3 separate regions of the Homo sapiens genome follow, and all the other regions are linked to region 1. The links are contacts of gene promoters, found by promoter capture Hi-C in blood cells and fetal thymus (Javierre and others, 2016). All regions are on one chromosome and are shown on one strand. Each heading gives the region's core, a stretch centred on a gene start or on the middle of the fragment in contact. The rest is flanking DNA. Distances are from core to core; before and after follow the strand shown. Region 1 holds the start of TMED7 (transmembrane p24 trafficking protein 7). Region 2 overlaps EPB41L4A (erythrocyte membrane protein band 4.1 like 4A). Region 3 holds the start of DTWD2 (DTW motif tRNA-uridine aminocarboxypropyltransferase 2).

The links. The method cuts DNA at HindIII sites, captures the fragments that hold promoters and counts their contacts. A CHiCAGO score of 5 or more calls a contact.
Region 2: a fragment that was not itself captured here is called in contact with the fragment with the promoter of TMED7 in region 1 in 1 of 17 cell types (total CD4 T cells); the score reaches 8.5 in total CD4 T cells.
Region 3: a contact is called between the fragment with the promoter of DTWD2 here and the fragment with the promoter of TMED7 in region 1, in 1 of 17 cell types (total CD8 T cells). The highest score is 6.0, in total CD8 T cells.

The regions. Positions count from the first base shown.
Region 1 is chr5:115,624,079-115,628,298 of GRCh38, reverse strand. TMED7 (transmembrane p24 trafficking protein 7) reads left to right here and starts at 2,263. Exons shown (of 3, transcript NM_181836.6): 1 at 2,263-2,698. The coding sequence starts at 2,507. TMED7-TICAM2 (TMED7-TICAM2 readthrough) reads left to right here and starts at 2,263. Exons shown (of 4, transcript NM_001164469.4): 1 at 2,263-2,698. The coding sequence starts at 2,507. RefSeq lists an enhancer at 2,198-2,367 and a silencer at 2,538-2,607. The HindIII fragment of the contact is 9,571 bases long and covers 1-4,220 here.
Region 2 is chr5:112,161,867-112,166,086 of GRCh38, reverse strand. EPB41L4A (erythrocyte membrane protein band 4.1 like 4A) reads left to right here. Exons shown (of 23, transcript NM_022140.5): 23 at 969-3,468. The coding sequence ends at 1,097. It overlaps EPB41L4A-AS1 (EPB41L4A antisense RNA 1), which reads right to left. Exons shown (of 3, transcript NR_015370.2): 3 at 3,586-3,936. Among named protein-coding and RNA genes, the nearest start is that of SNORA13, 2.5 kb to the right of the region's middle. RefSeq lists an enhancer at 1-623. The HindIII fragment of the contact is 2,122 bases long and covers 1,910-4,031 here.
Region 3 is chr5:118,986,250-118,990,469 of GRCh38, reverse strand. It overlaps DTWD2 (DTW motif tRNA-uridine aminocarboxypropyltransferase 2), which reads left to right and starts at 1,923. Exons shown (of 6, transcript NM_173666.4): 1 at 1,923-2,176. The coding sequence starts at 1,959. RefSeq lists a silencer at 2,010-2,339. The HindIII fragment of the contact is 4,492 bases long and covers 1,082-4,220 here.

The DNA.
Region 1 (4,220 bases), core at 1,014-3,513:
GCCATTCTCCTAGTTTCCCATAGCGATGGGCAATCCTTGGTGTTCCTTGACTTGTGAACATATCATTCATTCCAATCTGTATCTTTGTCTTCAGTATGCCATTCCCCTCCCCCAACCCTGCCCCTGTATCTTTGTGTCTGTGCATCTCAAATCTTCCCTCCTCTTATAAGGTGTGTTAGTCCATGTTCATACTGCTATGAAGAAATACCCAAGACAGGGTAATTTACAAAGAATAAGTTAAATGAATTGATAGTTCCACATGGCTGGGGAGGCCTCACAATCATGGTGGAGGGTGAAGGCACAGCAAAAGCACGTCTTACATGGCAGCAGGCAAGAGAGCGTGTTCAGGGGAACTGCCCTTTATAAAACCATGAGATCTCATGTAGCTAACTACCTGTTATAAAACATGAACAATGTTTATAAACATGAATAATGCATTATACGTGCATTATATGTTTATAAACACAAATAATGCATTATAAACACAATACTGCTTTATGGGAAACATAAATGAATGGGAAGAACCCGCCCCCATGATTCAGTTACCTCCCACCAGGTCCCTCCCATGACACATGGGGATTATGGGAACTACAATAAAACCATCAGATCTCATGAGACTTATTCACTATCACCAGAACAGCATGGGAAAAATCTGCCTCCATGATTCAATTACCTCCCACCGGGTCCCTTCCGTGACATGTGGGGATTATGGGAACTACAATTCAAGATGATATTTGGGTGGAGACACAGCCAAACCATACCATAAGGATAACAGTCTTTAGATTTAGGGCCCACCCTAAGTCCCAGGATGACCTCATCTTGAGGGCCTTAACTTAATTACATCTGCAAAAGCCCTATTTCCAAATAAAATCATATTCACAGGGGTGGAGGGGTTGAAACTTGGACATGTATTTTTTAGGGGGACACAATTCAACTCACTGCACACATTTACATAAATAACACATCTTTTAATAAAAATATTTTCGAAATAAAAATTTAGCAAGAAGAGTGACCTTATTTTTGTAAATCTTTCATATCTAGATTTAAGGAAGAAGCTGGGTGCTCATTTCCTTTGATATTCAATCTGTTATGCTGTTTTGGTTGAAATATATAATGAAAATCCAGCTTCATACAGATCATTACATACCCTCTGAAAGGGTTTCAGGAGGCTTCTGGGGACTTCAGAGCAACACTTGAGAACCACTGCTCTAAAGCATATACTCCATAAATATATGTAAAATGGAATTTCCAGGCTGTGGCTACATATTCCAGGCTATATATATATATATATATATACATATATACACACACACACACACACACTGTATATAGGTGTGTGTGTTCTGTGTGTGTATACATATATTCTACTTTATTAGATAATGGCACATTGTTTTCCAACTTGATTAACCAATTTACTTTTTCACTAGCAGTGTATAAGAGGTTTTGTGGCTCTATAAGTCGACCAATATCTGTTATTGTTACACTTAAAATTTTTGCCTATCTTGTGGTATGTAATGTATTGATTGCACTGTGACGTTTAATTTAACAAAAGTTCATCTAGTGCTTGCTATGTACCAACCACTTCTAGGTACTTTTTCCAAATATTGGTACTTTGTAATAATTCTCTATGGTAGGTGCTATTATCTCCATTCTACAGATACACACTGAGGCAGAGAATTTAAGCAAGTGGCCGGACGTCACACAGCCAGTACGTGGCAAAGCAGGGATTAAGCACTCCTGCAGTCTGCTCTTAGAATTCGCGCTCCTTGCCCAGCTGCTTCCCCCAAATATTTATTATTACTTATGAGAAAACTCCGCAAATTGCAAAGCGCTCTACCACCAACGATTAGCACCCTAGGGCAAAATGAGCCCTTTACCACTCCCTAGATGCTCCCCAGCGCTAAGTTCCCAGCGGAGGTTGCAGTGAGCGCAGATCGCGCCACTGCACTCCAGCCTGGGTGACAGGGCGAGACTCTTGTCTCAAAAAAAAAAAAAAAAAAACAACAAAAAAAGCCAGTGATTGGAGCGTAATTACCCTCGCCAACCGCCTGTAACCACGGCGGCCGCCACGCCCCGTTTCCTGGTCTCGCCCCTCTCCGCCCACGACTCTGGCCCCGCCCCTCGTCCCAGGCTGCAACGGAGGCAGAGCCAACGCCTCGCGGGCTTCCACGTACGCACTCCAACGCGTGTTCCCGGAGAAGAACGCATCCGGGTCACGGGAGCCGGTGTCTCAGGCTCCGCCCCTTCACCCCCCGAAAGGCTAATCCCCACTTCCGACCCTCTCAGGCCTTTTCCGCTTCTCTTTTACCTCCCCAGGTCCGCCCGTCTGCGCCCCTCACAGGAAGCCGGAGGGTCGCTCTGATCCCGAATCTCCCACAGGCGTGAACCTGCTCTGCTGTGTATCTTTGCGGGGTGGCCTGCGCTGAGGCCTGCCGCGCGCGGTGAGTCCGCGCAGACCTGACCCTGCGTCTCGCAGCTCGGTTGAGGCCGCCGCCGCCTTCTCGGGATGCCGCGGCCGGGGTCCGCGCAGCGCTGGGCGGCCGTCGCGGGCCGTTGGGGGTGCAGGCTGCTCGCACTGCTGCTACTGGTGCCTGGACCCGGCGGCGCCTCTGAGATCACCTTCGAGCTTCCTGACAACGCCAAGCAGTGCTTCTACGAGGACATCGCTCAGGGCACCAAGTGCACCCTGGAGTTCCAGGTATCAGGGGCCTAGCAGTCCCTGGGCCCCAACTCGCGGCTCCAGGATTGGGGGTGTAACTTGAGGGATGGCACTTTCCTGTCCGTGTTTCCCCGTTCTTAGGCTAATTCAAAAATCGCTTCTAGGTAGCTGATGCCCAGCATTTGACTTTCCTCTAATAAACCTTGGGTGAGAGATGTTAAGACCGGGTGTTAAAATATATGAATTCCAGAAATGCTCCCTTTAGCATTTCTTTCCATCTCATTTTTAAGGCCTATTGAACTTTCTTCCTTAAAAGATTCCCTTAAAGAAAATCATTTATACTCTGTAGTACCCAGTGTCAACCCTCTACTCTCTAATCCACACCTCCAATTTAATTGGATTTGGAGTGCTGCCAATGTCTAACTTCATTGCTTTTCAGTTTTACCAATATTAGGACTGTTGGTTAATACGGTCCTTGTCATTGGAAGAGCTCCATTACAGGTTGAACGGCCATTTGCCAAGGGAGTTGTAGAAAGAATTGCTGTGATAAATGAGAGGCCCCTTCTGATATTTGGGATTATATAAAAAAGAAACTTTAACAGAATGTGGTTTATTCGGTTGGTTAGAACAGTCTTTACTGAGCTTCAATTTTGGTTGGTAGGCGCATTTAACATTTGAGTAGCTATTGAATACTAGGTGCCAGTGGTACAGAAGTGGTCGAAACAGATAGGGTCACTGCCATCATTCATGATTCCCCTCTCACCCTGCTTTTCTTAACTGGTATCTGCTCATTCATCAGAACTGTGCCTTAAGAGCAGTAAGTAGGATCCATGAAGGAAGACTTCCTTTGGAAAATTATTTTAAGCTGAACTTTAAAGGATGAGCTATAAACACCTTGGTAAGGGAGGAGGGGGAATAGCCTGTGGTAGTAGTGAACACTGAGAATTTCAGGGCCATAGAGAGAGGTCCAATATGGTTGGGAATAAGGAGCCAGAGCAAGGGGGTCAGCAGGGGCAGGCCAGATAGTGTCTTGCTGACCATGTTAAGGATTTGTTTTTCCTGAAAGTGTAGGAAGCCATCAGAGGGTTATAAGCAGTTCAGTGATATGACGAGAATATTCTTGGTAGCTGCATTAATAATAACTTGTGCAGGTAGAGAAGTGATGGTAAGATGTTGCAGAGCGGATGTGGAAGGCTGATTAGGAGGTTATTATGGTGGTCTAGACAAGAAATGATAGTGGCTTAGAGTAGAGTGATAGCAGTGGGGTAAATGAAAAGTGAAAGGATTGGAGAGAAGGTAGTAGGTAGAATCAACAGGACTTGGTAATGATTTGGCTATAGTGGGTCAGGGAGGGGAGGCCAAGGATGACCCTTAGGCTTACTTACCTTCATGGATTAGCACCAGGGGACAGAAAAGAAGATAGCAGGAATTGTGATAAAAAGTATAAGCCGACATTTTCTTTGTTTGAATTTAATAAACATTTCCTGGATTTTTGTGTATGCAGACTCAGTGATTAGTGCTAAGGATACTACTACAATGGCTAACAAATTAGCATCTGTTA
Region 2 (4,220 bases), core at 1,721-4,220, 3.5 Mb after region 1:
TAGTACTTATTTCAGGTCCTCTCCTAGCACTTTTTTTCTGGTAATTCTTCTGCTGTATTCTCCTCTCACATTCACTGGTGTTCTCTTCCCACCTCTGGCTATCTAGAAATCTTCCATCCCAAATAGATGGGTTCATGCTTCCCATGATAGGCAGAATAATTATTCCATCAGTGCTTTTTGAATGTCAGTAAAACAAATTAAGCCAGTCATAGGAACAGATTAAAGGTAGCTGCATTTTAAGAGGGATTTATTTATTTTTAGCTCAAACAAATCTCAAAATAGATTGGGACGGTATAGCCCATTATTTATGGGAATATACATTTGGGGAAGGAAATATGCTTGCCAGCCTGATACACTGACAATGTTAGACCATCCTTGGAAGTAAGAGGAGGAGGGGTTCGCATAAGAAGTAGTAGTTGTGAGTTAGTGTCATTCTCAGAGCCTCCACCAGTGATGATGGGAGATGTGTAAAACCTAAGTTTTACAAACTAGTGGATGTGGTGCCCAGGCTCTGGTAATGAGCTGCCCTGTTTCTCCGTATGAGACAAGTGATAGGGGCTCACAAGACATTGTTCCATTCATTGACTACTGAAAATATAATCAGGGGATTATAAATTGCCTCCAAGTCTCCATCACTATCCTGTTTGGAAGAGTGAGGTTGAGAGCCTGGTTTGGGAATTGTTAACAAAAGTAATGACACTGATTTGGGTGAATTATGCCTAATATTCATGAATAAAATCGTTATGCATGTAAATGTCAGACTAACTTTGTATATTAAAGTTTAAATACAAACTTTATTTTGCACAGCTATTTAGAGGGAACATTTATTGAATAGCTTTTGGTATTATGAAACTTTTGAATTAACTCAGTATCTTAAATTTAAGAGCAGCTTGGTTTCTGATGTAATTAAAATACTTCATTTGGCTGTTTTCTTCTGAATCTTTCTACATTTTTCAAATATATTTTAGAGAAGAAATGGGTCTAAAGATAGCCTGATGGAAGAAAAACCTCAGACATCTACAAACAACCTGGCTGGAAAACACACAGCAAAAACAATAAAAACTATACAAGCTTCCCGCCTCAAGACAGAGACTTGATCCTGATGAAGGGTCAAGGGTAGGGGTGGGAAGGTTGTGTGCGCCACTGGTACTTTTGAAACTGTGAAATAGGTATCTTAATTCAAATCTCAGACCTGCAAGTATTTCTTCAGCATGAGAAAATACATTATCTTTTGCTTCTTTTTTTTTTTTTTTTTGAGATGTTATCACTCTGTCGCCCAGGCTGGAGTGCAGCGGCACCGTGTCAGCTCACCGCAGCCTCCACTTACTGGGTTAAGCGATTCTCCTGTCTCAGGCTCCCGAGCAGCTGGGATTACAGGCGTGCACCACAACACCCGGCTAATTCTTTTTGTATTTTTAGTAGAGACAGGGCTTTGCCATGTTGGAGGCTGGTCTCGAACTCCTGACCTCAAGTGATCCGCCTGCCTCAGCCTCCCAAAGTGCTGGGATTATAGGCCATGGTTTAACTACAGCACAGTTGTGCTGAAGGACCTTTTTGTTTTAACTGGAAGAATAAGTATTTTGTAAAAATTCACTTGATACCACATTTTCATTTCTGGAACAGGATAGCAATCATTCATTTCTATCTTGTGTCTGTGTCCACCACAACCAAGACCAGATGCATCTGATGAACATTCTGGAATTCTGAACTGCAGCTAGCCTGCTGTGCAATAGTACAAGTGGGAGGACGTCTTCCCAGGGCTGGGCTGGTTCTCAACTAGTGCCCAGATGCAAAAGGACTGAGGCATCACTTTCAGACTGCATATATTTTTATTCATATAAAGTTCTTTATAATACTTTATTTTGTGGTGTTAAGTTCCACCAGTTATTTACAAATGATGTAAAAAGCTTTAAGTGTTGTTAATTTCTAAAGTGTTCTTGCGTTTTCAGAAGTGTAAGTGGATCTCAGTTGATCTGTCACCCCAAACCTCAAATGATCCATCCACCCTGCTTGGCCATCTAATTCACCTGCTCTCCCCAGTGACTATTTTGTACCTTTCCTCTCCATAGATGACTTTGCAATCTACAGGGAAAATACTTATGCAGGACATCTTATATCTCCCCCTTACCACGTACAGTTCTCTCCACAGCTGCCAGCAGCCCTAACCTTTTTGTCTCTCCACCTGTGCTTTGGATGCTCTTCTCCCAGCCTTTTCAGGATCTTTGTCTGTCCTCCTATATTAATGTATTCAATTATTCTCTCAGCTAGATCCTTGCTACTTGGTTTTAAATTTAAGACTAAGATTAAACAAAACTATCTTTCACAACCACAAACCCCCTCCCGCCAAGCAACTAAGATTTTCCTCTCATTCTCAGCCAGTTTTCTTGCAAGCAGTATCTTTAGTCATTGCCCTCAATTCATCTAATCCCTATCTTAAGCTATCTCTAACATGGATCTTTCCCTCTACTCCACTAATATCAATCACTGTGTTACTTAATCCCAGGGAGAATTTTTAGGACATTCTTTTGCTTCTTTAATATAATCCTATTTTGCTCCTACCACTGACCATCCTTTCTGGCTTATCATGCTTTACCTTGCCATTAATTAGTGGAGTTTCTCAAACTTCAGACCCTAGGCCCTCTTCCTCTACCACCAGCAGATCTCATTTATACCCATGGCCTTAAGGTTTATTTCTGTAGTTTAGACTACTGAGTAATGTGCTACTGCAAAAAGACCATTTGGGTTTCTCAAAGGTAATTTAAAAATTCAGCTGTTTAAATGCTGCTCCCCAGCTGAATCTAGGGTCATTATGCTCATCAGTGTGCAAGCTGGACACCTAGCAGTTATGGACACCTCCACTATTACCACGTCTAGTTGGCTCTGTCATCCAACTATAAACGATCTTATTTCACTAATTTTACTAGTCCAAGCTGGTCTCTTGTCTAGACAACAATAAGCAACCTAGTTCAACTACCTTTTCTTGCAAATCTGATTTTCCACCATGGATTTATCTTGCTTTAATAAAGCCAGAGGGAGCCTGAAGTGGTCTGGCTTCTTTACCTACCTCTTCAGCCTCATTTTGTAACACTCTCACCTCCCATAATAGCCATCTTACAAGCCTCAGTAAGGACTCAGTTCTAAAACAGGGCACTGAAGAGGGAAAGCAGCCAAAACTGTCTCAAAAGTAAGTGGACTAACGGTATCTTTTTTCTAGCCCAAGCCTCTGTATATGTCATTCCCCCAGTTTTGCCTTGTGAAAAATATGACACATACCTTTAGTCTCAACTCTTTCTCAGGTTTCCCTAAGAAAATCCTATCACGGAACTCATCTCATAGTGAAGTTTTACATTTGTGATGACATTCCCTCCACTTATCTATGTTTCCAAAGGGAAGAACTGTGTTGTGCTCATCATCGTGTTCTCAGCTCCTAGTACAGTGCTTTCAATAAATTTTTTGAATACCTCTATACATTATTTGTCGTTTCCTGCAAAGCAAAGGCAGAAGATATGGCAACATTAAATGTACAATTTAGTTGGAGGAAAAATACGCATTGAGTGCAGTAAAGCACACCTGTCACTAGAAATCAGTCTAGTTCTAGCCACGATTTTTGAGTCACTGGAAGAAAGTACATTTCTCTTTGGGCCAAACACAAGCTATTTTAAGGCTATTAATTATGGTGACAGCAGTGAATACTGATCAAAAAAGAACCCCTCCTCCCTTATAACTTTTTAGAAATAGCTGTTTCTGGCAGTTAATCACTTAAAACACAAATGCCAAAGTGCATTAATATATTTATTCACATCCTCACTGTCTTAAATGTGTATTTACAGACTCCAGCAGGTAATTATGTCAGTACTCCTCAGACTCCCAGAAATTTCAAATGATCCAGGCAACTCTTGTGAAGATCAAATTTTCAAAATCCTCACCAAGGACATCCTAAGAGAAAAAATAAAGTACTCAATTCGACAGCAAATATTTTTGTATTACATTTTAATCAAGAACTTGGTAATATGCCTGCGATTTCACAAGCTTTTAAAAAACTCAATTACTACACATAAAAACAAATCTTAAAGAGATGCAGAATGCCAGTACTATGCGTATTTATTTCCCTGGGCTTCTCAGGAAGTATCAGCAAAACCTTCCCAAAAATAAGCTGTGGAGGCTATCCCATTTATTAACTCACCTTAATAGCTACAGACAGAGCAACACTACGAATGTAC
Region 3 (4,220 bases), core at 674-3,173, 3.4 Mb before region 1:
CAGAAGTAGTAGGTGAGATAAATGTTTGGATTTTGAATACTTTGAAGGGTAAAGCCAATAATCTGATATGGGGTGTTAAAAGGAAGCCCCAAGTAAGTAGGCTCACATCAACCTAAAAGGAAGGAGCAGAGGCAAAATTAATATAGAGAGTTTATTTGGGCCAACGTTGAGGACTGTAGCCTAGGTCGTACTTCCAGGTTGCTGTGGAGAGTGCTCTGGAGAACAAAATGGGCTGGAGTTTTTAAAGAAAAGAGAACGAATCAGCAGAGGGGGGCATTACAAAAGCTATGTCTCAGGAAGTGTCATTTATTTACAGAAATAACATTGGTTAGTGATTGGCTATACATATTGTTGAACTATAGGGTATACGGCGTTTTATGGCTACTCGGTGTCAGTCTAGGGCCTGCATAGCAAGTGCCTTCAAGAGGTAATTATTTAGCTCAAGGGAGAGTGAGACATGACTGCTCGCATTCCTTAGATAAAAAGTTTTTTTTTTTTTCCTTATCATCTGTCTTCTCACACCACACAATTGGGAGTCTCAAGGGACCTTAGAGGACTTGAGCACATTTCACCTCTTGAAATTAAAGATGAGCAGCTTCCTTTCGTTTAAAGATAAGTCACATGAGAATTTAATTTTGGCAGTTAAAGAATTGGTTCCCCAACCTAAATCTACAGACAAGATGAATTTTCTGATTCATCTCCTTTCCTACAGTTTCTGGATTTTGTTTATCCTCCGATTCCAAATGGCATAATTGCTAGTTCTTTCTCCCACTCTACGTCCATCACCAGGTGGGTGTTTCAGCCTTTTTCTATCCCTCACATAGGACGCTCCAAAGGAAAAGAGAGGTGCTGTTTCCGGGGGGAAAGAACGTAGGATAGTTGAAAACAGCACGGTATTTTATTCACAAACTTGATTTTAAGATGACTGAAAAATCTAATGTGAAATAAACATTTTAAGAAATACAGTATTTGCTCTATTACTGTGTTGTCTACTTTGCCTCACATTTAATCTATTACAACTATAGAGTTAAGACAACTGTGATTCCTAAGCTTAATTCACATGATTGATCAAAACCAAGCTTAATTCTGTTTTAATGTTGTGTATTGCTGGAAGTAACACAAAGCATTAATAAACAAAAGGAATTCGATACCCATTTTGGGTAAATAGTATTTCTGCCTTCATTCTAACATAGATTTCATTTTGGCTTTTAAAAAACAGCTGCTGTGCTATATACCGCCGTATCCAGTAGTTGTTAAATACCTGGGCAACGTTACCTTTCTAGGGCTTGTTTCCTCATACATAAAACCTATTGGTACCCCGGGCCAGCTCTCCTATTGCTTCCTGATCGGGGACGATCTAAAAATCTAATTTAACAAATATCTGGTGTCCAGTGTAAAATAGCATGCTTGATGTCTTATTAGCACAAGACATAGAAGAGCAGGAAATTCACATAAGGAAACGGACCAGCTGTGAGTAGTTCCCAGTGGATATAACCTCTCCTTTGTTGGCCTTTAAATAATAAGTGCATCAGCTGCCGCACCTGCGATGCATGCACGCGTGGAAATCCTGCAAATTCTTAAACTGCCATCCCAAGGCGGAAAATGCAGAATTCCATTTTATTTTAACTTTTAAAGGAGTTAAATTCGGGCTTGGTACTGGGGTCCTCTCGGGGAGGTTTCCCTTACCTCTCCCAATGACGCTACTTAACCTCACCAGCACTCCAACACTGCCCACACTTGCCTACCCAGTTCTAGGTGAACGGTCCCACTGGGCACGGACCAATGGGCTCGTTCCTTCCCAGCGGCAGGGTGGGACCTCCAGCCTGGGCTTCGGAGACCCGCCCCCCGTACGTGGCGTGCGGGCATTGCGCTACGCGGCGCGGGCCGGTTTCTACAGCGCGTGGCGCCCCCCGGCGGCAGCCGGGCTTCAATGCCACGGCCTGACCGGAGTGTCCGCCATGGAGTCGCAGAAAGAGGCACGAACACTCCAGGAGCCCGTTGCGCGGCCTTCTGGGGCCTCAAGCTCTCAGACGCCGAACGACAAGGAGCGGCGGGAGGGCGGCGCAGTGCCGGCGGCGGCTGCCCTGGGCGCAGAGGCGGACGACGACAGTGCGGACGGGCTGTGGGAGCTGCCGGTGGAGCCGGCCGAGCGGAGGCCTGAGTGCACCCGCTGCAGGTGACCGCGGGGCTGGGGGCGGGGACTGCAGCCGGCAGCGGCCTTCGGAGGAGGGTGCGGCGCCCCCTGCCGGGGAGTCGGCGGCTCGGGCAGCTCTGCGATTAGGGCGGCGGAGTTGGCGGGTGCACGTTGGAAATCTCGGAAATGCCAGGCACAGCTACCTAGTAAGAAGCCCTTTTTCCAGGTTCATGATTATCTAACCTTACTTCCTGCAATATGCTGAGCGTATCATGGGATGAGCAGACATCAGTTCTGTTTCCAAGAAACTTAAGCGTCCAATAGGGGAAGTAAGGGGTGATGACAGTAATACTTGTAAAATAGTTACACAGTCATATTTAAGTGGCATAGTTATATCACAGTTAAAAAGCATAAAGTGGATTGGAGGAGAGAGACAGTCTCCTTTACCTATCCTACCAGAACTCTAAATATAGGGCCTTTTCAGGTGTTCATTCTAGGTTCTCTTCAAACCCTACATACGTCCCACTGGTAATTTATAAAATCAGTTTTCATGGTAAATTATCATCTATATCCCAGTGTGTCTAGCTCAGACCTTTCTTCGGAACACCAGACCTGTGCATTAATTTATCAGGTGTTTATTGAGTGCTTTGGTAATCACTGACAATGCAGTGGAGTTCATGTTTTTGTAGAGTATTCTCTTACTGGATACGGATAATAAACCAGCAAACAAGCAATCAAATATGTAATTACAAACTGGGAAAAAAGCAGTGAAGGAAAGGAATGGGTTGCTACTGTAGAAAATAGCTCAATGGTGTCATGAACTATCTCTGAGATTTGAAAGATGAGAAGAATCCAGCCAGGGGAAAAGCATTCCAAGAAGGGGAACAGAAGGACTGAATATGGTTGAAGATCTTTACTGCTTGAATACTTGGAGTATCACACTTTGGACATTTTGACCTTTTCCTAGGGCTGGATTGTAAGACTTCAGAGGAAAGGATCTTGAATGTAGAATGTTTTTATATTTTCTAAATGTACTATGTATAGTTGACGCTCAGTAAACCTCTGAGGAGGATGGAAAATTTGTGATTAGAAGGGACTGTGAATTTGAACATAGGGGTTTGTGAATACAATTAATTTAAACAAGTCGTCTGAGGGGGTTGGGGAAGCATTTAAAAATGTTTGGAGGGGTCTCAATAGGATACTGGAGGAAAAGTGTTTCAAATATAAATCAAAGGCTAAATTACTGTGCTAGTTTTATTTAGTTTTTAGTCTGTTCAGAATTGTTAATTATAAATATATAGGTAAAAATCTGTTTAGCAGAGATTTATTTTATGATGCTTTTTTAAAAAAATGGCTTGCTGAATTTAATCTTTTTTTCAGTTACGTTTAGTTAATACCTTAGGATTACAATTTTCCCCAACATTTCTGCACTTTGCTTATTTCTGGTGAAATTTGCTACCTGTGAAAAGCTCTCCTCCCTCTTGCTATGCATTTTATTTGCTTTAATTAGGTAGACTATAATTCTACACTTTGCTTATTTCTTGTGAAATTTGCTACCTGTGAAAAGCTCTCCTCCCTCTTGCTATGCATTTTATTTGCTTTAACTAGGTAGAATATAATTCTAGAATTATGGAGAATATTTAGGTGTTGTCAATAAAATATAAATGAATTGATGGCTTTTTATATTTTATTTCATTATGCTATTAGAGTTCTACTAGTACCCTGGGTGAACTTCTTTACATTTATGGTTAAAATAGTTTTAAAAATGCATTCTTAGATTTGATTGATCATTGAGTCACAGTTATTTGGCTATTTACTTAAACTGTATTCATTTCTCTGAACACATTACTACAAATGTCACAGCCTAGGGGAGTTCCAGAAATTAGCTTTGTTCAGGAAGTGCAAACTCAGTTTAACTTTTCAGCAGAATCTTGCTCATTATAAATATAACATATCTTAAATATGAATGGAATATTCTTTAAAAGATCCCAAACTTGTAATTTATTATTGCAAGATATAGATTCTATAAATGTATTCTGTCCTTTATGTATGTCTTGTTTACAAAACCTGCCTGTATTCCATTTAC